7 separate regions of the Homo sapiens genome follow, and regions 1, 2, 4, 5, 6 and 7 are each linked to region 3. Evidence: promoter capture Hi-C in human tissues and cell types (Jung and others, 2019). All regions are on one chromosome and are shown on one strand. The core of a region is centred on a gene start or on the middle of the fragment in contact, and the rest is flanking DNA. Distances in the headings are between cores, read along the strand shown.

Region 1 (3,702 bases), core at 327-2,826, 300 kb after region 3:
CATACGTGTTGATCAAATAAGTATGGATCACTGGATTAACAACATCAAACTGGTTTATTTGCTAGAAAACTTCTCCGAACCTATATGAGCTCTTGTACATTGTGAATTTCCAGGAATTATAGAATACAGTGTTCCCAAATTTATTTGACTGTGGGACACTTTGGGTTATTTTTTTCCCCCAAAAAAACATGTTTCAGGACTGGTGCTTGGCCCGTAAGAGCTAATTCATTCATTTATGTATTTCACTATTAAATAAACACTTATTAGAATAGCAAAAATAAGGACTATTTCTCAAATGACATGCTATCTTTATGAAAATGCCATACTAGTCTCTCCAGAATAGTGTGTGTTTGTATGTTTGTGAACGCGTGCATACATGTGTCTGCATGCACACATGTGTATATGCCTATGTGTGTGTGTTAAGAGAGGATAAAGGGAGAGGGAGCAAGACAGGGATGGGGTGAATCTTTGGCTTGGATGCTCATGTATATGGCTTCCAGAGGCTTATTAATGAAGATACCATCTCAATCCCTGAATAGAATTACATTATATCAAGTGGACTCAGGCTAATTGTCTGACTAATTTTAAGTTCAGTAAAAAGAACTGTCCAAATCATTTATCTTCTAGTCCATCGAATGAAATATGCTGCTACAGCAGAATATGTTTATGCCCAAACCAACTTTTAATATGCGAAAGTAACTGGCCTTTCTTTGTAATCATTTTCATTTTTTTTCCCTAAAAGTCCTTATCAAAAAAATTTCCCATATTAAAGATGATAATGCTTTTGTTGGGGGAAAAAGTGGGATGAATGTTTATTGAGCATTCCTTTTAGACCACTGCTAGGCCGAGAGTTACAAATACGCAGTCTTATTAATTCTTCTAGCAACGCTGTAAGATAGGTAATCCATTTTTCTCCTTTTAACAGATGAGAAAGTTTTGTGAGGACAAGCATGCATCTTTCTTTAGTACCTGACTCATAGTTGGGTCTCTATAACATATTTATTGAATGAATGAATAAATGGTTGGGGAAACTGAGGCTGAATGAGTTGGCTCAGGATTATCTTGTCCATGTTAAAAACTGCATTTGAACCCAGGTCTGTCTGACTCCAAAAACCAAATGGTTTCCTCCTCATCATTTCAGAAACTAGCAAAATGCTTTTATGTACACCATTTGATTTTAGAATCCTGTACATTTTCTAAATGAGGGCAGTGAGACTCAGAAAAATAGTATGTCCAAAGTGACTAAGGTAGTAGAGAGAAGATTCAAAACCCTATCCCAGGCCTTCTGACTCCCATTCCAATGCTCTTCCAGCTACATCACAGATCTTTTGAGCACCCCCTGAAATCGCACCCAAACTGATGTTCACGTGGCAGATACCTCACCACCCTCTCCTCACCTCACGCCTTAAATTCTCATCTTCAGGCCCCTCTGTCTCAGGTGACACTCATGCTGGTAAAATGTCCTGTGTTTTCTGCCGGAAGTAGCCAGCCCAGACAGGTGCAGGAGAGGTCTGCTCTAGAGGGATATATTGCACAGCCTTGTCCCTGCCTCCCCTATTTCACCGCTGATTTCTGATGGGACCCCCAGATGAGTATCATCCCCCTCCTGGCCATTTACAACCTGCAAAGCAACTTGAGTTCCTCCAGAGGGACTGGCAGCTCTGTCAAGACCATATACGATTTTCCCATGAAAAGTACCTTTGGAAGAAGATTTCTTCATCAGTTTCCACCATGAACACAGATGGACACGTTTCTCCAGAATCTTCTCTGCTGTCATTTGCTGTCCTGCAAAGAACCTGGGATTGTCCTTCGCTGGGACAGAGAGGGTCAGGCCCAGGCTGGAAGTTCTCGGTTCCACTGGTGCTCTCGGGGGGAAAAATGTGGTATTTTTCCTTTTGTCTTTTCTGCTTTTGTTTTTCGCTTTGCTCCAAGCTGATGATTCTCTCAGCTTCTGTCTTCATGATGCCAACACTACCAAATGAAAAATAAATAATGCCCCCAGAAAACCCCAGGGTTGTTCATTTCTAGACACAGAACCAAAGAACTGACAGCACTCAGCTTTTTCCCCTCCCCAAATAAAAGTTACTTACATACCTTGGGAAGGCAGGTTCTAAGGCTACTAGAACTGTTTAGGAAAAGATGATGTGTATATTAACAAATGTCTCTCCTCTTTTCTCTTACTTTAGGCTCTCATCATTTCTCTCTCTCTCTCTCTCTCTCTCTCTCTCTCTCTCTCTCTGTATTTATTTATCTATTTATTTTGAGACAGAGCCTTGTTCTGTTGCCCAAGCTGGAGTGCAGTGGCGCAATCTTGGCTCACTGCAACCTCCACCTCCTGGGTTCAAGCAATTTTCCTGTCTCAGCCTCCCGAGTAGCTGGGACTACAGGTGTATGTCATCACAGCCAGCTAATTTTCATATTTTTAGTAGAGACGGGGTTTCACCATATTGCCCAGGCTGATCTCGAACTCCTGACCTTGGGTGATCCACCTACCTCAGCCTCCCAAAGTGCTGGGATCAGGCATGAGCCACAGCACCCAGCCTCATCATCTCTCTTTTAGATGATTTTGATCAGAGGTTATTGTGCATTGAATTGGGTCCCCCCCTGTTCCCCCAAATTCATGTATTGAAGTCTTAGCCCCCAGTACCTCAGAATGTGCCTATACTTGAAGATGGGGCCTTCAAAGAGGTAATTAATGTAAAGAGAGGCCACATGGCTGGGCCCTAATCCAATCTGACTAGTGTCCTTATAAGACGAGGAGATTTGAATGCAGACAGTTATAGAGGGAAGACCATGCCAGGATGCGGGGAGAAGACAGCCTTCCCCTTCCATAAGCCAAGGAGACAGGCTTGGGAGATACCAACCCTGCCAACACCTTGATCTTGGACTTCTAGCCTCCAGAACTGTGAGAAAATAAATTTCTTTAAGCCACTCGGTCTGTGGCACTTTGTTATGGCAGATTTTGGCATTGAGAAGTGGGGATATGCTGGAACAAATGCCTAAAAATGTGAACATAATCTTGGATGTGGGGAAAGGGTAGAGGCTGGAAGAGTTTTGAGGTACATGTTAGCAAAAGCTTAGGTTGCCTTGAAGAGGCTGTTGGTAATTTACCAGACTAATGCAGAAGTTAATTTTTTAAAAATGCTGGATGTGGAGAAGAAGGAGTTTCGATTGGAATTGTTTCAAAGTTCCAGGCATTAGAATGTAAGGTGCTAGGTATCTTGCATATGTTAACTCATTTATGTTTCATTATAATCCTGAAAATTAATTTTACGTGTAATATATAAATACATTAAGTAAAAATTATTGTTCATGTGCATACTTAAATAAATGTATAATTCATATAAATAGGTATCTTAATGAATATACCTATTTTACAGCCAATAACAAGAATGGCAAGGAGTAACAATAGCAAACATGTTATTAAGCTCTCACTATGTCAGACACTGTTCTAAGAGCTTTGTATTTTTTTTTTTTGCCTAAATTTTTACAATAACTCTTTGAGGTAGGTACGACTTAATGAAAAATAACAAAATGACATAGTAATTAAGAGCACAAGCCCTGGAGTCAGATACCTGAGTTCAAATCTAAATTCTGCCACTTGGTTTCTGTGTGACCTCGGGCAAATTCCTTAACTCTTCTGAGCACCAGTTTCCTTATCTATAAAATGAGGATGATGATAATGATAATAATAATAATAAT
Region 2 (3,548 bases), core at 438-2,937, 330 kb after region 3:
GCTGTGCTTTAGGTATCTCTCATACCCCTCCTAACCCACCAATTAGCCCAGACTGTCCTTTACCTGGCAATGGCAGAAGCCCAAAGAGGTCCAGCGTAAACATACAAGGCCTCTTGAGGCCTAGACACACCCTCACTTTTGCCTCAATGTTTCGGCCAAAGCAAGTTGCATGGGGTAGGGAAGTATGCCCTGCCTTTATAGGGAAAACCCCAAAGCCACACATGAAGGAAGTCTAAAGAATTAAGGTGAAGAATGGGAATCTATCAGTTTATCACAGGCACCAGTAGATTTTTCTCTGTTTACTTGTATTTAGAAAGAGATATGTATCTATGCCTGGCTTGACTTATCAATAAAAAATTATCTTTTTAATTACAAAGGTCTATTATAAATCGATATAGGACCTTGCCTGAATATTTCATAGAGGTAAACACCCACTTCCAGACCAGGCAATGAAAGAAAAAAATAATAAATTAACCTCTGGTTCAGACATCAGACTCTGAGTAACTCGGAGGAGGCCTGAGATGGATAGGCAGGTTGGGAGTGTCAAAATACCCACTTATAGATAAGCAGCCACTGGGGCACAGTGCAGAGACAAATGGGCCCCAGGGAAAGGCTTTCTTTTGTGCCTTCTGACTGTGCACAGCCGTCAAGAGCTGTGGGCTGTGATCATAGCAAGTAAGTTGGAACAGACAGGTGCAATGATAAAAGCAATTCCTATGGGAGGCTTATTTACACTGATGTCAGATGTCAGACTGGCAGGTGTGCCAGAACAAAAGAGAGCTATACAACAAGCTCCCGACTGAGCTGCTCAGCCTGGCCTTTTCACTAGCAGCCTAGTTTGGGCCAAATTTAACAAGACGTTGTCTCTTTCTTCCCCTGGAGAAGCTGCTGGGCTAGGAGACATTTAGTAAGAGTGGCTAGGCAGGGTGCGGTGGCTCACACCCGTAATCCCAGCACTTTGGGAGGCCAAGGTGGGTGGATCACCGGAGGTCTGGAGTTTGAGACCAGCCTGGCCAACATGGTGAAACTCCGTCTCTACTAAAAATACAAAAATTAGCCAGGCGTGGTCATGTACGCCTGCAATCCCAGCTACTTGGGAGGCTGAGGCAGGAGAATTGCTTGAACCCGGGAGGCAGAGGTTGCAGTGAGCCAAGATCGTGCCATTGCACTCCGGCCTGGGCAAAAAGAGCAAAACTCCATCTTGGAACAACAACAACAAAAAAATAGTGTCTAAAATGGCAATGTTAATATTCCTGTATATTTACCAACACATCACAGTTTACAAAAGCTTTCCATAGACTTCATTTCCTGTGAGTCTCACAATACCCATTTGAATATATGGTAATGATTGTTCTCTTTTATATTAAAGGAGATTGAAGCTCAGAAGTGTAATTGTTGAACTAGTATAGGCCAGTTGAAAAATAGTTTGGGTCACAATAGTTTAAGTTCTCAAGCCCCTCCCATGGAGAAAAAGAAGCAATGTATTTGTGCTACGAGAATTATAGTCAAGCAAATGTAATGTCCTCAGGGTGCTGCCAGCAAAAGACTTTGGTATGTGAAATGGGATGAGGCCAGAGAGCAGAAGGAGGTTCCCAAGGGAATCCGGGACCCTGACTCTTTACTCTTCTAGGGGAGCAACTGGGGCCCACACCCAGGGTCCAGAGTGAGCCGCACAGACTGACCAGCTTTGAGGCTTGATCGTTCTCTTCTCTTCAAAGCACTCGCTGGGATCTGGGGTCAGAGGTCTAATTGTATTTCTTGCAGATTCCTTCAGGCCACTAATGGGCTACTTGAAGAGCTAGCTTGCTAATAGCCTTCCTGCTTTTGGGAAGAGGAGCTTTTAAAGAAGAGGCATTTGTTAAATGGGCCACTCTGGAATTCTCCATTTATATGAAAAGGGTGTTTGATATTCAAGACGGTATTTGTCATTTGGGGGAAAGGTTAATTCAATTATTTTGTCTGGAGATGAAAAAGATGAAGAGCCAGCTTCGTAACAGGCTTCAGGTCTATGAGGGGCCGTCCTGGGGAAGATGGCGACCACCTGTCTGTCCTCTCAAAAATGGAAGAAGAATCAGGCTTTTGTTGAGGAAAGATCTAAGTGAGACAGATGGAATGACCTGTGTGCACTGGCTGCTCTTCTTGGCAGATTATCAGCAGATCCCCTGGATGTGACAGCATTAGGAAGGGGGCTTGTGGCAGATGATTCCCTAAACACTCTTCTTTGATTTTATGACTAGGATTTGTGATTTGAGATAAAGCTGGAAGAGTAAAAGCCAAAGAAAGATGACACCTAAATAGAGGCCCTGGCTACTGAGTGTAAGTGATGATTTCCCTGGACCTCAGTTTTCCAATCTATATAATTGGATTACTGTTACCCGTGTGGCTCTTCAATCATGGAGTTACAAAGATGGACCAAGATAATGTTGTAAAAGTGCACTTCAAACCACACAGCCCTGAGCAACTGAAAGAAACTATTTTTTCCTGGAATAAGTGTTGATTATTTTTCAAGTCTAGTGTGCACTAACATTTTTCTTCCTGCTTTGGATAAAGCTGCCAGATTGCTTTGGATCCAACCTTGGAATAACATGCCAATTACTTTCTTTGAGCTCTCAGACCTCTTCCTGCCTGCGCCTCCTTGAACAAGTCCTGCTTTGCTTTTGCTACCAATTATTCATAGAATGGTGCCATTTAGGCATGAAAGGAAGGGGGCCTCCAAAGAATATCTTCTAAGCCAGCACCCAATTCACATTGATTCTCCTTTTATGAGTGGTGATCCCACTTCTCTTTGAATGCCTCTGGTATTAGGAAAACTCACTATCTCATGTTAAAGCTTTTGCATTGTTTGAAATTTCAGATAGTTAACAATTCATTTTCCCTTATATGAAGCCCATATCTATTTCCCTGTAGCAGAGGTCAAAAACTGAGGCACATACAGAGAGAGGTAACATAAGTGAATGACCTGGGCCTGGTAAAGGCAAGGCGTCATGGAGGAGGGTAGTTAACTTCTAAAGAGATGCCTTTCCAAAGCAGGCATCTGCTATTCACACCAATAGATTATTGCCCTGCAGAAATATGGGCCCAGAGTTAACAGATCCAGCGCTTTCCTTGGACCTAGGGTAGTTTAACTTGTGTGGAGTACACAAAAGAATCACACTTGAAAGGAGGCTATTTGGGGTATTGTTAAATACTAAAATTAAAAACTGGATTTTAATGGTATTCTGAAAAGAGGAGTAAGGTGCAACCACCTCCCTCGATGGAGTGCCTCTTTCCAATCCCAAGTGCAGAACCTAGGGTGGCAGCCACAGTTGCTCTTCCAAAGGATGGGATTTCCAATCTGCTTAATTTTTAAGAGACAATGGAAATCTTTATTTTTATGTACAATTTTAAAGTTTTGATGTTAGCTTTATCTTAAACGTGTCTTAAGGACTGTACAGGCCAAACCAAACATTCTAAATATTTTCTGGGAGGTGAACGTGGCCCCCACACCAATGATTTTCAATCTCTGCTGTCATAGTGCTGCCAACCTCAGTCTTAGTTCTACTCTCAGA
Region 3 (3,699 bases), core at 833-3,332:
AATCACTTCTGCTCTCATTCCATTGGCCTAAGCAAGTCCGATGGTCTCATCTAACTTCAAGAGGATGGGGTAGTGGATTTCTACCACATCGCAGGGGAGGGGAAGAAGTAGAAAATATTTTAAAATACTACTGTAGACACAATGTGTTTATCTCTACAATAGATCTGCTAAATCCATATCTTAAGAGAAAACCGAAGCTCTGAGAGGTTATGTCATTTGACCAAGGCCACACAGCCAATCCTCTGGGAAGCCAGGACTCAACCTGCATGCCACTCATCCTGACTGTGGGATCTATAGGCACAACGTCCACAAACTGTATAGAAGCAGAACAGTTTCAGGATGGGGGTGGGTGGCAGGGAGGCCCTGCAAATGCGGTGGACAGAATAGGAATTGAATAGGCATGATGCGCCTTTGTGTCTGTGTTCTGTCATTGCTCCTGGGGAAGGGAAGAAGGGGCAGGGAAGTTTGTGTGAAATATCAGTAGAAGGAAAGTTTGGACAGGTAAGAATATCACGCGTCAGAGTACAGCAGAGACACGTGTGGAGGATGAGGGCAGTGTTTCAGGCCATTACTCTGGCAGCAGTGAGGAGGCTCCCGGGGAGGGTTGGGGAGAGCGGGCTGTTGCTGGAGTCCGGGGTAAGGTGACCAGGGGTAGACAGGAATGAAGGCGGCGGGAATGTAGAGGAAGGGCTGCACCTGAGAGCTGCAGAGGAGGCCCCAGTGAGGTCCACTGGTGGAAAAGAACCGCCATGCGATCTGCAGAACACCAGACCTTCTTCAGCCTTCACTCTTCCCACCCTAGTCTGGTACATTGCACCACTTGTTAAAAAAAAAAATTTCCCTAAGACCTCTTTTTCTCTAGCCTTCTTCCTTATTTTTCATGGTCTCTTCTTAGAACGGCGGCAGCCACGCCGCGGTGGGAGGCCCTTCCTGCCTGACCCTTACCGTGCGGGGTACCGTTCCTGTCACCATCGCCAGGATCTGGCCCTTTCAGTGAAAGGAAATCTCCCAAGGCCTAAGGAGGCAAGAGGCCTGCAAATCGCCTCCTGCTCAGCAAACGGGTTGCTCAGCAGGCCCGGGGTCCTGGTCCACCCCAGGTCCCTGGTTTGCCCACCTCCGATGGCGGCCTTCGCTGGCAGGGTGGGCGCCTCTGGGGAGCCAGCTCCGTCCCGGCGCCTTTAGAGCCCCATCTCTTCCACGTCCCTGGCCTTCCTCCCCTTCCAGGCGGCTGTCCCCGCCGGGGTCCAGATGGTGTCGGAGGGCCGGCGGTTCGACGGCGGGCCCGGGGTTCAGCCTCCCGGCCTCCCTCCGTCCCTGACTCTCCTTTCTTCGGAGAGGGCGCGGGGGCCGGGGCCAAAGCGCCGCTCTTGGGGTTCTCCTGGACTCGGAGTTGCCCCAGGCGGGCGCAGCTCTGCCCCGCGGGGTGCCAGCCTCGGGCGGGCAAGGTCCGTGAGTCACCGCCTGTAACCGAACACCAGGCCTCCCTGCCCCCTCCCCCAGCTCCGGCCGCCAGGCTGCGGCGACACCTACAAGAAAATGAAGGGGCGCCCAGGCCCGCGGCGGCCCCGGCCGTATCGCGAGCAGGTCCCGGCGGCCCCCGGCTCGCGGCGCTCTTTCTTCCCCGGCCCCGGGGCTCGGCCAGCCGCAACCGCCGCCCCGGCGCCAGCAGGAATCCAGGCCGAGCGACCGGCCCCGGAGCCCGAGGCGGCGGAGGGCCCGCGGTAGCTGCGACTGGCGAGCCCGAGAGCGCCCGGGGAGGGGGCGCCCGGCTTGGAATTTCCCGGTCCCTTCCGGCCCAGCGAGGACAAAGCACTCCTGGCCGCCGCCGCCGCCGCCGCCGTGGCCTACGCCGCGCCGCACAAAGGGCGAGTCGCGACACGCTCCCATCCCCCTCCCAGCTCACGGCGGCCCCGGCCCCGGGTGGCTGCAGGGAGGTGGGGGAAGCCCTGGCTGCACCGCCCCTCGCTCCCCCTCCCCTGGGGCCGCGCGAGCGCCGCCCCCGCCCCGTCTGCGCGTCCTCCCGGGGAGGGGTTGGGGGGCGCGGCGCCCCACATAACACTCCCCCTCCTGCGCTGCGAGCCACCCTCTCCCCTCCCTCCTGCAAACACCACCGCCTCCCCTGCCACCGCCGCCACCTCGCCCGACGCTCCACAGCTCGCCGCGGCCGGGGGGCGGTGCGCGGACCGTGCGCGCCGCGGGCGCCAGATGTGCAGTCCCCGCCGCCGCCAGTGACCGAGCCGCAGTCCGAGCGGTATCGGGCCGCCTCCCTGATGCTGCGGGGGCGACCTTGAGCGTACAGCGGCTTCCCTCGGTGGGGACCCCGACATCCCAGCGCTGTGCCCGGTCTTGCCCTCTGTAGCCCGGCTCGCCCCGCGCTTGGACATGGAAGGGGCCGCCGCGCCTGTGGCGGGGGACCGCCCCGACTTGGGGCTGGGGGCGCCGGGCTCTCCCCGAGAGGCGGTGGCGGGGGCGACTGCAGCCCTGGAGCCCAGGAAGCCGCACGGGGTGAAGCGGCATCACCACAAGCACAACTTGAAGCACCGCTACGAGCTGCAGGAGACCCTGGGCAAAGGCACCTACGGCAAAGTCAAGCGGGCCACCGAGAGGTTTTCTGGCCGAGTGGTGAGTGGGGCAATCCTGGAGGGTGCGGGGGGCGCTGGGTGGACGCGGCCGGGGACTGAGGGCGTGCGAGGCGGGGGTCTGTGCGCCCTGGGGCTCTCTTGACAGAGAGGGGGCTCATTGGGAAGCCCCGAGACAGACTCCTCACTCTTTCTCCAGCACCCCGTGACTCAGGCGTGTCTCTGTCCTGAAACACTTGTTACATCCTGTCTGCACATATTTTATTTTATTTTTTGGTTTGTTTTTAAAAATTTAATCCTAGCAGCAAAGGAATGTTTTAGATTTGCAAACACTTTGCAGCGTTGGGACGGCCGGGGTCTCTCTCCCTCGCAGGCACTCATTTAGACCATGCCCCGAAACGTCTTATTTCCACAACTCTCCAAAGAACCACATTCCCAGCTAGGAGCTAGCCCCTCAAGTCCGGTGTTTTGTAGGTGTCCCTACCCCCTTCCACCCATCTGCCCGCAGCTCCTTGCTCTGCATCCTCCCACTCAGACTCTGCATCGCCCTGATACTGCTGTGACTGCAAGGGAGGGCGACTCTTGCCTGTTTTTGAGACAAGGTTAGGGAGCAAAAATAAAGACTACTGCAAGCCTGAGGATTCTAACAGTTTGCATCATGGCTTTGGGAGGACCGAAATGTCCAGGGCATGGGTAGCTACAGAGATAGCTGTGCTTAGTTGCAGCAGGCTCAGTTGTGTTTCAGCTCCTGGTTGCAGGGCTACCAAACCGCTGAAGGGGTCTGGCCCCGCTGCTCTTGTGACAGCTGACACCCTGCCAGGGTCCTGGCACCATTTGCACAGCTCCAAGGAGTGCTTTGAGTGCCTTGGGGTCTGTCTGCCTTGTCCCAGCCTTGGTTTGTTGTTATTTTCACTTCTGCAGAACAGGCCCTTGAAATCCACACTGCTTGTGGCTAGAGAGTTGGGTTCAAAGTGACTGACTGTTGCAGAAAGATTTTGTGTGGTGTGTGGCAGAAAATTAACATGGTTCTTTGATTTGAAGCAGATCAGATGTATTCTAATCGATTTAGGGCCAAAGTCAGAAACTGATTATGGGACTCCTTGTGTGCACTTTTGGGGGT
Region 4 (3,926 bases), core at 385-2,884, 500 kb after region 3:
CTGAAACTCTTGGTTCTTATCACCATATGATCTAGGGACCAGAGTTTTCATGAGGCCATTTAAAAAAGCATTCAAAAAAAAAAAAGCAAAAGACAAGGATGAGGTAGTTAGCAGACACCAAGGGACCTTGTCTCAGCCTAGTGATACCACATCACAGTGGCAGCAAGAAGCAGAAAAGAGGGGAGACATACAAGTACTTGACATTTAAAACACAATGACAATATCCATTTGTAAATATGGTTCAGTTTATGTCCTAGAATTCAGCCAATCAGGAAAGCAACTCCTTCTCATGTAAAGAAGGACAGAGAAGGATCAGGAAAAGCAACAGAAAGGGAGTTAGACAGCCTCTCCTCACCCAAAACCCCCTGGCATCAGTGATTCTCAAAATGTGGTGGGCGAACTGTCTACATCAGACTCACCTGAGATGCAAATTCCTGGACTCTCCACAAACGCACTGAAACTGAACCTATGGGGTGGGGATCAAGAGTCTGCATCTTGTCCTGGGCGTGGTGACTCACGCCTGTAATCCCAGCACTGTGGGAGGCAGGTGAATCCTTTGAGGTCAGGAGTTTGAGACCAGCCTGGCCAACATGGCAAAACCTGTCTCTACTAAAAATGCAAAAAAAAAAAAAAAAATTAGCCAGGCGTGGTGGCGCGGGCCTGTACTCCCAACTACTCAGGAAGCTGAGGCATGAGAATCGTTTGAACCCGGGAGGTGGAGGCTGCAGAGAGCCAAGGTCACGCCACTGCACTCTAGCCTGGGTGAGAGCAAGACTGTCTCAAAATAAAAAAAAAAAAAAGAATCTGCATCTTACAATATCCCCAAGTGAACTATGAGAACCATTTGTCTAATTCCTAATTCACTGTGAAGTCATTGAAGAGTGGAGGCAGTATTGTAGTGAGGGAGGGGCTAAAGACCTGGCAGCCACTCCCTGCAGTCAGGGTAGAAACAGCCCTGGGGCAGCTGGCTCGGGTGCTCAGCCCTCAAAGCATCTGGATACATCAGAGGGATTGCCTGCATCTCTCCTTCCTCATCTGTGACCGTAGAGGGGCAGCTCTCCCCTGACTTTCATGACGTTTTTGTGAACATAAAATGAGCTGATGTGTAAAAAAGCTTTTAAAACTTATATAACCTGAGGAATTATTTATTCCTATGAACTCAGAAATAACCACCTTTCCCCACTTCCCCTGCAGTTATGGGGAATCAGAGGTTTGTGTTTTCCTCTCAACAGGCTCTCCACAAAGATTATATTCACCAGATAATTGCAGACTTTATTCTCTTCAACTTGTGGATTCAGTCCCAGGATGGGTGCCCATAACTAATGGGAAAAAACATTTTTAAAGAAAAATCTATCTTCTCTCCTTAATGTTATTAAAAGGTCACTGCAATTTGATGCTCCAGACTTCCATCTTGAGCTCTAGGCTTGGGTATTTCTACCTGGATATGCCTCTGCTCAACCCTGCAACTTATGTGTGTCCCAAAATGAACTTCTAAGTTTTCATCCCAAATAACTGGTTTCTTCCTCTTGAGTTCCTCATTCTGATGAATGGCCTCGCCATCTTCTAGCACCTCTAACTCAAGAATGCATTGTCAACTTGGGGCCCTCTAGATCCAGTCACTCTCCCCCCAGAGTTTCTTGCTTACATGTTCTTTCTTTTCTAATCCTTCTGCTACTGCCTTCATTATGGCCCCCATCCATCACCACTTTGGCTCAGGTACCAGGCTGTGCAGTAGTAAAAATGTAAAGTAAGGTCTAGAATGTCTGCTCAGAGCTGAGTCGTTCTCACATAAGTGAGCCTTACACAAAAACAAAAGACATCATCTATTTGGTTGGGTATGTGCTTGAAGGCTGACAAGACCTGGGAGAGGATTTTAGAGATCTCCCCGCTACGGAAGCTCTGCTCTGCTTCCACACTTAGGGAAGCTTCCAGCACAGACTGAGAACAGCATCTGTCCTGGGAATTCTGAGATGCACTGAGCGATTTGGCTTGTTTATTCACCATCACTGCATCCTTTCCTGAAAATAAACTACATTCCACAGTGATCTTTGGGGTTAGATTCTTGTCCATGACAACTCTCTAAGGATTCAAAACAGGAAGCCAGCAGGAGCTGGTCCACAAGGGAATCCTTGAGCCCCTATGCTAGCCCTGGCCTGCCTCCTTCTGGACTTCTGGTTGCGGAAGACGAGTAACTCCCTTACTTTAAGCCATCACTGGTCAACTTTTCTGTTGCTTGCAACCAAATACAACCTTGTCTGAGAGTGAAAAGACGGAGCTGAAACTTAAGCCCAAATCTGTCTGACTTGTCAAACATATTCGCATAAACGCTTCTCATACTCTATACTGTGGCTTATCTGAGGCAACAGATGTGCAAATGGAGAAGGAAAAAATAAGATATCCTAACATGCCAGAGAAGGCTCAAGCTAGCAGCTGATATTCTGCAGCCCCTGCTTCCAGGTTTCCAACCCGGATGACTACTCTGAGAGGCACCATCCATAGGCAGCCAGCTGCAACTTTAGCATAACTTTAAGCATTCTGGGAGCTAATTCCGCCACGTTTGGGGAATAGGATTAGAGTAAGACCCTGATTTGGTTTTTACAGTCTGCCAGGGGCTATTCCTTTCCTTTTACCACTTCCTGGGTCTTTAAACCTCCAGCTTGGCCTCAGGAAATTTTATGAAACCAGAACCTCCATAACTGAAGGCACAGCCTCCATCAACATTTGAATCAGATGGCCCTTCCACTCTGGGTGACAGAAAGGAAACCTCTTTGCCTTATGCCCTAGGAAATCAGCAACCCTCATCTAATGTGATCAGTGTTTGTATCTTGTGGCCTGGCACCAAACTAGAGAAAATGGATACAAACAAAAACATAAGGTGGGGAGTTTTGTACTAATCAGAACCTTGCTCCAGATCATCCCTAAGGCATTAGAATCAAAGAATATAACAGAGGAAAAGTGGGCTAGAGGGAGCTGGTCGGGGAGAGCAGCCAGCTAACAGCAAAGGAATGCACCATCAGCTTTGATCAGGTTTGACAGGGCATCCATCCTCTGTAGCTGGTCCCATTCTCCAGTGTTTACATTTGTCACATCTCTTTTCCTTCCAAACAAAGGATGCTTGACAGTCTGAATGGGTAATTTGCAAGGTACCAGAGCTCCTCAGCCATGCATACACATACATTTTCAGATGGGTTGAGGGCAAGTGGAGGGCACCAGCTACATTTTGAAGACAATGAGGCCAATACCCTTGAAATGTGCCCAGTGCAAAAATAACATCTTGCAAGCCCTTATCTTCATTGTGAAAACTAAATTAATGACTCTTTCACCCACTATGGAGGCCAGCATGTATCAGAGCCCAAGACTTCAAGAATGAGGCTCAAAACACATCTGTAGGAAAATTTAGTGATTTTGACTCTCTGCCCAGACTAATATACTTCTTAAAGTTTGCAAAATTTTATTTTCAGTTTCAGTTGTCTATTATGCAACTTACCTATTGCATGAAAAATGGGTTTTCATTTCTCCCCTCAGGTGTTTGGAGCACTCAGGGATCTGCCTCCATTTCTTGTGCTAGAGCTAAGAGGGGCTACATGTGAATGTGCATGCACATGCCTGCATGAGCGAACTTGACGAGCATGGGGTACAAGGCACCACTGAACTTTGCATTCTTGATTAGAGTTTTGGCTGCAATAGCTGAGCCTGATTCAGTTGATTTCAGTTTTACAAATACCTTCAAACTGTTGATCAGCTACATTTTTGCTTCTAAGCAGACCCACCATAGGAATACCAAACAAACTCCCTTAGTTTAGCCAATCAGCATATTTACTGGAAACTGAACAATTATTGTTCTGAGCAGACACAAGACATGACCAAGATAGGACCCAGGCCTGTAAGGTATGACAGTATAAGAGAGACACAATAAGGCAGGGAGT
Region 5 (3,908 bases), core at 61-2,560, 280 kb after region 3:
TCAGAAGGTGTTCCCCATTATTCTCCCTCCTTATACCCTGTCTTCTTATTTATGAAAATGGTTGTCTTTTGCTTTTTGATCATCTCCCACATCATACTGTAAGTTCCATGAAAGCAGAAGCATTTTTTATTTCTACTACCATTGTGTCCTCAGAGCCCAGTGGACTTCCTGGCACATAGTATGTGTTCAATACAGGTTTACGTGGTGGTTGAATGAATCCACACAGAGCTGAATGAACTCACCATCTGTATTAGTCTGTTTTCATGCTGCTGATAAAGACATACCTGAGGCTGGGTAAATTATAAAGAAAAAGAGGCTCCACATGGCTGGGGAGGCCTCACAATCATAGCAGAAGGAGAAAAACTGTTCTTATATGGCAGTGGCAAGAACTTCCATGGCAGTGGCAAGAGAACTTACATGGCAGTGGCAAGTTCTTACATGGCAGTGGCAAGAGAGAATGAGAAAAACCAAGCAAAAGGGATTTCCCCTTATAAAATCATCAGATCTTGTGAGACTTATTCACTAAGAACAGTATGGAGGAAACTGCCCCATGATTCAAGGATCTCCCACCGGGTTCCTCCCACAACATGTGGGAATTATAGGAGCTACCATTCAAGATGAGATTTGGATAGAGACATAGCCAAGTCATACCACCATCCATCCTCAAAGGAACCTAGAGACCACAGCCTGATGTTTCAAGAGTCCAAGCTATTTTTTCTAAGAAAGGCACAGTTAGTGTGAAATAATGAAGTCGCATTCTTGGCTTCCTTGGTCAATGGCCCTCACAGTCTTCTGGCATTGCTTTTTCCCGTTGAGTCAGCTCTCTCCCATCTCATTCTAGGCTCCCCCGCCCACCTTCCCTCACTCATGCCATGCCCTTGTTTCCTTCTTTAGGGAAAATCACAAGCCACTGAGAAAACTCCTCTCAATGTTCTCACTCCTTTCTCCTTCCCTTCTTCATTTATGTCCATATCTTTCCTACCTTAGAGTCTCTCAGAGGCTGAGATGTCTTGTACTGAGGGTAGAACTAGGTCTGGGAAGGGGGCTGGGAGACACATGGGTCCTGGAAGAAGCTGGTAAGCAAAGGACAACCTCTAATATTTCCAACTGCCTTTAGCACCCTCTGCCTTCTAAATTAGCCTTGGTGGGAAAGTAGAGGCCCACTCCAGGTGGGGGCTACCATAAGCCATCTCTTGTCACCAAATCCTTCCTCTGTATATGCCTTTCCACCAAGTCATATGATACAGATGAAATGAAGTTTGCCTTCAAGGGGTTTAGAGTCACATTTAAGTATCAGGTTAAGTACCTCAACCTTGAAAAACACACACACACACACACACACACACACACACACACATAAACACACACACGTGACAAAAAAATAAAGATGGGCAGAAAGGGGATCCATTCTATTGTTAGATCAAAAATTTAAAAATATAAACCTAATTGAATTCATGCTTTATGGAAATGGCTTTTAATTGGTGAATCAGATTAGCACAGTAGCATAAGATGGCAGGAAAGACAAGAAGATAAGGAATTTGGTTTGTATCCTACTTTTACTATTTGCTAGACTTTGTTAAGTCACTTAACCTTTGATCTGGAAACTAGGAATAATTTTTAATTTTTAAGGATTAAATAACATTCTTGAAGTGAAAGTTTCTGGTACAAAGTAAGTACACAGAATAAAATTAGGTCACATTTATTGGGTGCTTACTATGTGCCAGAAACTTCGAGATGCTTTGCCTTTGCTAACTCATTTAATCCTCACAACAGCTCCATAGATGTTTCCCTGCTTTACAGAAATGGAAACTGAGGCACAGAGAGGTGGCAGAACATACCAGCAAATGGGGATTCAGAATTTTTCTACAGGGGCTGGACCGTCACCACCTTTCCACAGTTCCCCTCTGTCCGTAAAAAATTGCTCTCTCTATGCGTTAGTTCATCAGGGTTCTTCTGTATTGAAATGAGGGAAGAGATGAAAATAGTATCACTTTAAATTTTTCAGCATGAAACTGGAAGGCAAAAGCAGATGGGTATGTCCTGGGATTGAAAAAATAAGTTGAGCACCTCATGTTTTTCAAAATATTTCTTAATAAAAGAAGTAGAGACTGTTTGAATTATAAGGGCTGTCATCTGTCATGTAAGACATCATTCCCTCTCTGCCAATGCAAAAATCTCCTCTGTTGGAATTTGACCTATTATGGGAGCTTCTTCTTGAGTGGGGCAGCCCAATGCACTTGAGTTTCCTTATCCTTTTGACATGCGATTGTTGCTGGTCCCTGGTGCCCTCTGTGCCCGTGGGCTGCACCTAGAAGATGCCATTCTCATCAGCAAATGGCTAGAAGTTCAAACTTACATGAGTCAACATTTCCAAGGATTTATAGTTGTAGGCATTTCTATTCCTACTGTCTTCACTAGATATTTACTGCAAGTGCCTGTGTCCAGGAATGACATTTCTATGTGGGCAACAGAGCTGACATCAGCTTAGTGTTTCCTGTTTCAGCCTGATGTTTCCATGGCTCAGTATTAATTGTGGCAGTATAGAGGGTTTTAGCATCCAGATGACACCTCAGAGCAAGAATATCTGCCCCCACCCTCCCACCCCCAGGCCCTGAAGTCACTGACACCTTTGACACCATGCTTCATCCTTTGTAACTCTAAACTAAGTTCTTCTGACTCCAAAAGGTCGGTGTTTAATTATTTCATTCATTTCCCCATTCATCCATGAATCCATCCACCCATCCATCCATCATCCGTTGTTCAACATGCATTCATCCATCCATTGGTCCATCATCCATCTACTCATCATCCACCATTCATCCATCCCCATCATTCATCTACCAATTCACTCATCCACCCATCCATCACTCATCTACCGTTCCACTTATTACCCATCATCCATCCATCCATAAATCCAACATCCATTCATCCATTTGTCATAACCACATACTGAGCACTGATTGTGAGCCAATCCAATTCTCAGTGCTGGAGAATTCACAGTGAATCAGGCACTTAGCTCAAGTCTACAAGGGGTCACCGTGTCACTCCTACCATCTTTTAGGTTGTACTTGCTCATACGTCATCTCCAAGCTTCCTAAACTTCACTTACTTACCACTTGTACAAATTCACAACTTTCACCTATAACTTGTAATGTCATTTGCTTAATATTTGTCTTTAAGTAAATTATCCTATTTTTAAAATAAGTTTATTTTAAGAGGAAGCTTTATATTACAGGTAACATTATACATTTGACATAAGTTGTATGTTTTCATAAAGAATTAAAATAGGTGCATACAATGTTCATCTCAGGTACCACCAATGGTAATTACACCACAGTTTGAGAAACTGAACTGTATCATGTTTGCCGCATAAAGTCACTCTGAAATGATTATGAACCCCATTTCCAAATGTAAATTCTCAAATGAGGTAATTCTTCTAAGGATACATTGTTGACAAGAGTTAGAATTTAAGACTGAAACTCAGATCTTCTGGCTGAAGGTCCAGAAAATCCATTAGAAGATGGTAAAGTTAATTGCATCAGTTGCCACCAACAGTTAAAAAATTGAACAGAATATAATAAGATGTAGTATATCACACTTAGTGTAGTTTAAGTATGTTTTTGTGAAGCTTAATCATGGCTTAAAATGTGTATCTTACTGTAGGGCTTATAGTCAAACACGTTTGAAAATCATTGCTTTACCCACAGTGCCATTTGGAAACTGGGTGCCCTGTTGGCAGTCTTGGCTGGAAAGCACTGCTGCATTGTAAAACTCCAGGGATTGTCCATTCGTATCATCATCAAATCTGCTCTACTGCCTGCTTTTATAAAGAAAATTTTACTGGAACACAGCATGCCCATTTGTTTATGTATAGTATATGGCTGCTGTTGTGTACAAATAGGGTTGCC
Region 6 (3,674 bases), core at 645-3,144, 340 kb after region 3:
GGAGCTTGTGAACATGAATTATACTACTGGGTTAGTCATTCATAGCTGTCTGTCCCTCAGGGTGGGGAGATCATGTAATTCCTCTGAGAGAGGTGGTTAAGGCAATTCTCTGGAGAAGAGGAGAGCTGTGAGTTATTAGCAGCCAATCCTTCCTGGGTGAGAATCATGAACACGGAAAAATTAATATTTCCACGTGGGTGTGGCTCATTTCACTTCCTCTCACATTCCATTGGCTAAAATAAGTCACATGGCCATGTCTGACCTCAAGAGGATGGAAAAGTACAGAAATACAAGCTACACCAAGTTCCTGGAAGGAAAAGAACCAGAAATAATATGAACAGCTAAAATCTCTACCACAAAAGCTGTCCTGAATCCTATTCTGATCTATGTAAATCCCAACCATACTGTGGTCCCTGTTTTTTTTTTTTTTGGATTCCCACATGATGTTTGATTCTGTTAACACTAATACCACAACTTTATTACTTGAGTGCCTTGTGATTAGAGGAACTGAAAAAATGTATAGAATATTCATCCTTTGGAAACTATCTAAAGATTCCATAACAAGACAAAATACATAATGGAATTTCCATAAATGTAATATGATGCATACATTTAAGAAAAGGTAAATTTTGAATCAGGCGCAGTGGCACACGCCTGCAATCCCAGCACTTTGGGAGGCTGAGGAGGGTGGATCACTTGAGGTCAGGAGTTTGAGACCAGCCTGGCCAACATGGTGAAACCCTGTCTGTACTAAAAAATACAAAATTAGCCAGGCATGGTGGCAGACACCTATAATCCCAGTTACTTGGGAGGCTGAAGCAGGACAATGGCTTGAATCCAGGAGGTGGAGGTTGCAGTGACCTAAGATCACACCACTGCACTCCAGCCTGGGCGACAGAGCGAGACTCTGTCTCAGGAAAAAAAAAAAAAAATCAAATTTTGAGGACTTTTCTTGAAATAGGAACATATATAGTTAAAAACATAAAAAGGATGCAGGACTGAGTGTACACATAACTATATATGTCTACCCCATATATGTGAAAATAAATGAGACTGGATGAAAATAACTGACAATGCTAACAACAGTTAAAGACAATTTTATATAATTTTAATACAATTTTGCCTCCATATTTTTACAATGAATTTGTTTACCATTATTCTAAGAAAAAAATAAATATAATAAAAGTGTTTTTCAAAATAGTTTTATTAATTTGAAGTTTACTTTTTGGAAAAACTGGCCAGATTTTTACTTAAGTAGAAATAGGAGAGAAAAGCTTTGTCTTGTATTTCTCAGGATAGGAAATTATGGGATGAGAAGGTTCATTCTAAGCAGGAAGTATGAGTTGTTGGTTCTAAAATTTGGTTACGACTTAGCTCGTATTGAAATTGAATAGGACAGAAACATCATCTTCTTTAGCAAAAAGCCATAAGTGCAGTGATAACAACTCTGACCTTCCCTCTTATTTCTGGCTGCCAGATAACCTATCAGAGACAACTGAGGTCCAAACATTGGCCTTAGCTAATAAGGTAAATTCAATTGTTAGTTCATTTTCTGTACCTTCAGTTATTTGTTTCCCCACCCCTACATCTCCACTGACCTTCTTTCCCTCTCCATTCCCCCCTTTGTTCATCTATCCCTTCTTCTCTTTCTTCGTGTTTCTTGTCCCCTTTTCTTTTCCTCCTGCAATGAACATTTGGTGACTACCTCCCATGAGCCAGAAAAAGAGCTAAGATCATCCTCCCATAACTCAGCCTCCCAACGCTCAGGGAATGATATTAACAGACTTGTTAAAATATCATATTTTATTTAATATTTTATGTCTTTATCCTCTGTTGACTTCCAGAGATGGTTCTAGTCCTGAATACATTAAATACACAAGGGGAAGATAAAAATCACTGTGTATCTGAATAACAATATATTTGCTGAATACATTTGCTTCATCTGTAGTTAGTCAATAAAATAAGCTGTTTTAAATTTCGTTAGTTTCATTGATGATCCCTGATGGCTTACCATCATTCATAGATAATAAAGAGACATAAAATTATTAGTAGCAGAAAGAAAGAAAAGGAAAGAAGAAAGAAAAGAAAAGGAAAAGAAAAGAAAGAGAGAAAGAAGGAAAAAGAAAAAAGGAAGGAAGGAAAGAGGAATTTAGAGTACATAAATGAAAGAGAGCCAAGACTGACATTGGAAAAGTATATAACAAAAAGCCTTTTCCTTTGCTATGATTGGCTACAAACTCGACTTCATGTTTTAGCGGCCAAAACAAAAAGGGAAATATACACAATTCACCAAGTATATTACATTACAAACTGGTAATAAGGGAAATATAGACAATTCACCAAGTATATGACATAAAAACTGACCAGTTTGTCAGAAGAACTATTTTTAATATTGAAATCAGACAGGACCTCAACTCTGTGTGTAATGAATGAGGTCCTCTACAGCAGCCTGACAGGGGACATGATGGCAAATGTCATCAGCCTGAAGCCTCCTTCAGTACAGGCTGACGCCAGCCCAGCAGAGCCTACTGCCATAAAAGCCAATCTGTGGAGCTCTCGTTGGGTGCAACCCAGGCCCCCAGCATCTTGCTAACCTGGTTTAATTAGTGATAGATTTCAGAACTGGAAGAACAAATAGTTTTTAAATAGATCTTCCAGGTGATTTATGCTGCCTTAAGGACTGAATTATATATTAATATTTTTTATTCAATAAAACGTATTGGGCACCAACTCTGTATCAGATATTGCGCTAACTGTTGTAGCAACTCAATCGCTTCTTGCTGTTTAAGAACCTGAGACTCAGTGCAGACTTTTCAACAAAAAAGAATGAGGTTATTTGAATCATTTATTCACGTATGCATCCAACTGTCCACTCATTCATTCACTCATTCATTATTATTTGAATTCATAATTCAAATTTATTGAATATTTGAATTAAATATTCAAATATTCAAATATTTGCAGACCCTGCAAATATTTATTAAGGGTCTGCTATATGCCAGGCACCATGCTAAGGGCTAGGGTTAGAAAGACGAATAAGACAAGGTTCTTGCCTTCAAAGAGTCACTGTCTAATGATGGAGAGAGATCATGTTCAGCTCCCTGCTGTACTGAAGCTGTGTACCAAGAACTATGGATACACAGAGGAGAGAAATAATTGACACGTAAGCTATTTTTTTTAGTTTTTTAATTCCCATAGAAGCAGCTGGCTTAGACTGATAACTTTCCTTAAGTAGGATTGGTGGTGAAGGGAGAAATAAAGTGTACAAGACTTTGGAAATGAACAAGGATGGAGTAGAATGCAGGAATTAACAGCAAGAGCCCTAGCAGTGGATGAGCTTGAGGACTCCTCTGCTACTCAGTAGGTATGGAACCTCAAGGCGATCATAATGCTGGTGCATTATGATCATCTGGTGTCTAATGCGGCACCTGGTCCAAAGCACTGACTCAATACCCTCTACGGTTGTTTGTATTATCATTCCGTCAAGTCCACCTTGCATGAGGATGTCTTATTTGAACACCAAATGGGATTTGGATACTAAATCCTTTTGCAGGGCCCATGAGGACAGAAATAGATTTGACTGTAGAAGGACCAGCATCCAGGGCCTGAAAGATCGATTGTGATGAGTGGGTCACCGGACCTTTTTTGAGTCCTCAGACAGACAGCACCTGTTA
Region 7 (3,919 bases), core at 6-2,505, 260 kb after region 3:
CATATGCATGCACATACACACTTCTGGGCCCCACTCCAGAGTTCCCATACCTGCAGGTGTGGAATGGGGGCTGAGAATTGGCACTTCTAACTAGTCTACAGATGAAACTGATGCTGTTTGTCCTAGGACCCTGTTTGGAGAACCACAGCCCTGGGTCACTCTGCCCCAGCCAGGACAATCTTGGTCCTCCTGGAACAGCTCAGCAGGCTCCTACCTCAGAGCATCTGCACTTGCCTAAAATGCAATTCCCTTGAGACCAAGGTGTGCAAAGCTCATTCCCTTACCACCTGCAGGTCTCTCCTCCACAGGGAAGCATGTTCACCTTGTTCAAAGTGCCTAGCCTGTTCCTCACAGTCTCCCATGTCCATCTTTCCTGCATTAGTTTTTTCTCCATAGCACTAGGAAGTGACACACTCTGTACAGTCATGCACTGCATAGCTGTGATTTAGTCAATGAGGGACTGAATATACAACAGTGATCCCATAAGATTATGATGGAACTGAACAACTCCTATCGCTTAGTGACTTCATAGTCATCCTAATATAGTAGCAATGCGTTACTCACGTGTTTGTGGAAATGCTGGTGTAAACAAACCTACTGTGCTGCCAGTCATATAGAAGTCTAGCACATACAATTAATGTGTATGATAATACACTCGATCATGATAATACACGACTATGTTACTGGTGTACATATTCATGATACTATACCTTTTATCGTTATTTTATAGTGTACTTCCACTGATAAAAAAAAAAAAGTTAACTGTAAAACAGCCCCAAGCAGGTCCTTCAGGGGGTTTTCTAGAAGAAAGCATTGTTATCATAGGAGATGATAGCTCCATGTGTATTACTGCCCCTGAAGACCTTCCAGTGGGACAAGATGTGGAGGTAGAAGAGAGTGATATGGATGATTTTGACCCTTCGTAGACCCTTTGTGTTTGTGTCTTAGTTTTTAACAAAGCAGTTTAAAAAGTGAAAAAAATAAAATGAAAAAAATTAAAAATAGAAGCAAGCTTATAGAATAAGGATATAAAGAAAATAATTTTGTGCAACTGTGCAGTGTGTCTGTGTTTTAAGCTCAGTATTATTACAAAACAATAAAAATATTTAAAAAATTAAAAGTATATAAAGTAAAAACATTACGATAGGGTAAGGTTGATTTATTATTGAATAAAGAAAAAACTTTAAATAAATGTAGTGTATCCTAAGTGTACAGTGTTTATAAAGACTATAGTAGTGTACAGTAATGTCCTAGGCCTTCACATTCACTTACCACTTACCCACTGACTCAGAGAAACTTCCAGTCCTGAAAGCTCCATTTATGGGAAGTGTCCTATAGAGGTGTACCATTTTTTATCTTGATGCTATGTATTTTTATTGTTCCTTTTCTATGTTTAGATATACCAATACTTACCATTGTGTTATAATTGACAGTATCCAGTACACTAACATGCATGCAGGTTTGTAGCCTAGGAGCAATAGGCTTTATCATCTAGGTTTGTGTGAGTAAGTACACCGTGTGATGTTCACACAAGGATGAAATCGCCTAAGGACACATTTCTCAGAACTTACCCCTGTCGTTAAGTGATGCACGACTGTATTTACTGTGTATATATATTTCTGTCTACTAACTCCCATCCCAGAAATGTAAATTCCATGAGAGTAGCTTCTCTGTCTTATTCTCTGCCATGTCCCTGGCACTCAGAAAGGCGTCTAATCATAGTGTATGCTCAAAGACTATACGTTTACTGAAGGAAAGAATGAATAGAGTAAAACTGTCCATGAGGAGTGGTGGAGCGGAGCGGTTAAGACATAGGTGAAGGTGGAAACCATCATTCTCGGCAAACTAACACAGGAACAGAAAGCCAAACACTGCATGTTCTCACTCATAAGTGGGAGTTGAACAATGAGAAGACATGAACACAGGGAGGGGAACATCACACACTGGGGCCTATTGGGGGTGGGGGGCTAGGGGAGGGATAGCATTAGGATAAATACCTAATGTAGATGATGGGTTGATGGGTGCAGCAAACCACCATGGCACGTGTATACCTATGTAACAAACCTGCATGTTCTGCACATGTATCCCAGAACTTAAAGTATTAAAAAAAAAAATGCTCAGCTTCAAGAGTCGGAATGATTTGGGCTCAAATACTTACTTAGCCACATCCTTCTTGTTTAGCCTTGGAAAAAATACTTTCCTCAACTACAATTCGGGGGTTCCAGTTATACTATCTCATAGAGAAATGTGAAAATTCAATGCAATAATGCAGATAAATTATCACAGGGCTGGGCACAGAGTAACATCTCAATAAATGTCAGTTCATAATATTTTTGCTCTACAAATTTGATCCGTGTCATAATTCAAATAGGACCTTGGTTAAACTTCAACTTTGTGTAGAAAACCATTTCTTTAGGGTTGGTAAAAAGTGAATAATGCTATGGAGAATATTTAAGCTATTAAGAGAAGAAACTATTTTTAAACACTCCCAAGCACTTTCAAAGTGTCTTGTTGGTGTTCCAATTATCTCTACTTTTATTGAAAATCATTCTATGTAACCCTGAAAGTAAAACCTCTAAGGATTGTTCCAAACTATAGTTGGAAATGCTTTAAATAAACTTTATTAACCTAGCTTATCTTAAAATTACAAAAATAGGTTTCTTTCCTTACAAATATATATGTTTATAAATACATATTTAATTACAAATATATTGTATCTCTATATTATATTAATAGAAAATGTATTCCTATATTATATGTTAATACTTAATATGAAGATTGATTTTAATATATTTACATATTTAGCTTTAATTATAAATATTTACACATATATTTCTTTATTTATATTTATATTGATTTATAAATGAACATGTTCCCTGATTTAGAAATCCAGATGGAGCTAATTCACACAGTTCTGATTAACACAGCTTTTGTGTAGCTCCACACCATGTGACTGCAGCTCCTTGCTTAAGAACTCAAATGCTGACCCACAGTATTTACCAGATGTGGAAGATGATCTATATTTGTTGTGGGGCAGATGTACCAAGCTGAAATCTTTTTTTTTTTTTTTTTTTTTTTTTTTTTTTTACTTTTTCCCCTTTATGCTCCTCCCAACGCTCACATCCTGGCCACCAACTCTTAATGAAAGCTTCATCCGTGGGTGGCATCTTGGCCAGCACCCTTAGAACTGGGGAAGATGAATATTAAACTGTTTGCAATTGACATCATAACTGTCAGTGAAAAGACTCAGAGATAAAAGCACTTAGAAAAGAAAAGTTAACTTGCAACAAGTGCAAAGGAGTCAGACTCCAAAAAGACAGACTTGCCACACAAAAAACACAAAAAGTTTTTAAAGAACAAAACCACAAGCTCACCAAGGCTACCAAGGGCACGCTAGTCTGTTCATGGTAAGGAAAAAAACAGCATTTTTACATGATTATTATAAGAGAAAGGTTGTGACATACTTCAGTTATGGGCATTGCAAAAATCAGGAAAAGAATTGTCTTTGCTAGGGGTCCATGCTTATGAGAAATGCAGATTTCATTTATTTTGGGGACCAGAGACAGATAGAGCACCTATTATTTTTATTAATTTCAGGGTTCAAAATTTGCCTGTATGTTTTTTTCCATCTTGATTACAGTATGTGTTGTGCATGTTTACTAGTCATGTTGACAGGCCACAGTGTCAGTTTTGCTTTGCAAAATTTCCTTGGTCACCAAGTTCAGCTTTTGCTCAGGGTCCAGCCCTTGTTGCTTCTGTTCTTAATGGGTTTTCTGTTTTCCACAATTGCCCACCCATTTAACTAACAGTAGCTGATATTTGCTGAATGCCAGGGACAGAGGTAGGTGCATTATACAATAATAGCTAATATTTATTGAACTTTATTCCAGGCTTTCCTGTTCTAAGCAGTCTTCATATT

The links. Contacts are between HindIII fragments. The study calls those that stand out against the background at their distance.
Region 1: a contact is called between a fragment that was not itself captured here and the fragment with the promoter of NUAK1 in region 3, in 11 of the 25 tissues and cell types used here (H1 embryonic stem cells, IMR-90 fibroblasts, adrenal gland and 8 more).
Region 2: a contact is called between a fragment that was not itself captured here and the fragment with the promoter of NUAK1 in region 3, in 6 of the 25 tissues and cell types used here (H1 embryonic stem cells, aorta, dorsolateral prefrontal cortex and 3 more).
Region 4: a fragment that was not itself captured here is called in contact with the fragment with the promoter of NUAK1 in region 3 in 5 of the 25 tissues and cell types used here (H1 embryonic stem cells, IMR-90 fibroblasts, aorta and 2 more).
Region 5: a fragment that was not itself captured here is called in contact with the fragment with the promoter of NUAK1 in region 3 in 11 of the 25 tissues and cell types used here (H1 embryonic stem cells, IMR-90 fibroblasts, adrenal gland and 8 more).
Region 6: a fragment that was not itself captured here is called in contact with the fragment with the promoter of NUAK1 in region 3 in 6 of the 25 tissues and cell types used here (IMR-90 fibroblasts, adrenal gland, aorta and 3 more).
Region 7: a fragment that was not itself captured here is called in contact with the fragment with the promoter of NUAK1 in region 3 in 4 of the 25 tissues and cell types used here (H1 embryonic stem cells, heart left ventricle, mesendoderm cells and 1 more).

Annotation. Positions count from the first base shown.
Region 1 is chr12:105,836,772-105,840,473 of GRCh38, reverse strand. No RefSeq gene overlaps it. Among named protein-coding and RNA genes, the nearest start is that of CASC18, 130 kb to the right of the region's middle. The HindIII fragment of the contact is 6,291 bases long and covers 1-3,702 here.
Region 2 is chr12:105,811,596-105,815,143 of GRCh38, reverse strand. No RefSeq gene overlaps it. Among named protein-coding and RNA genes, the nearest start is that of CASC18, 110 kb to the right of the region's middle. The HindIII fragment of the contact is 5,644 bases long and covers 1-3,548 here.
Region 3 is chr12:106,137,337-106,141,035 of GRCh38, reverse strand. It overlaps NUAK1 (NUAK family kinase 1), which reads left to right and starts at 2,082. Exons shown (of 7, transcript NM_014840.3): 1 at 2,082-2,622. The coding sequence starts at 2,383. RefSeq lists enhancers at 141-760, 3,152-3,653. The HindIII fragment of the contact is 8,166 bases long and covers 1-3,699 here.
Region 4 is chr12:105,640,059-105,643,984 of GRCh38, reverse strand. No RefSeq gene overlaps it. Among named protein-coding and RNA genes, the nearest start is that of CASC18, 62 kb to the left of the region's middle. The HindIII fragment of the contact is 3,275 bases long and covers 1-3,271 here.
Region 5 is chr12:105,856,102-105,860,009 of GRCh38, reverse strand. No RefSeq gene overlaps it. Among named protein-coding and RNA genes, the nearest start is that of CASC18, 150 kb to the right of the region's middle. The HindIII fragment of the contact is 4,231 bases long and covers 1-3,425 here.
Region 6 is chr12:105,795,007-105,798,680 of GRCh38, reverse strand. No RefSeq gene overlaps it. Among named protein-coding and RNA genes, the nearest start is that of CASC18, 93 kb to the right of the region's middle. The HindIII fragment of the contact is 5,258 bases long and covers 1-3,674 here.
Region 7 is chr12:105,875,688-105,879,606 of GRCh38, reverse strand. No RefSeq gene overlaps it. Among named protein-coding and RNA genes, the nearest start is that of CASC18, 170 kb to the right of the region's middle. The HindIII fragment of the contact is 5,868 bases long and covers 1-3,919 here.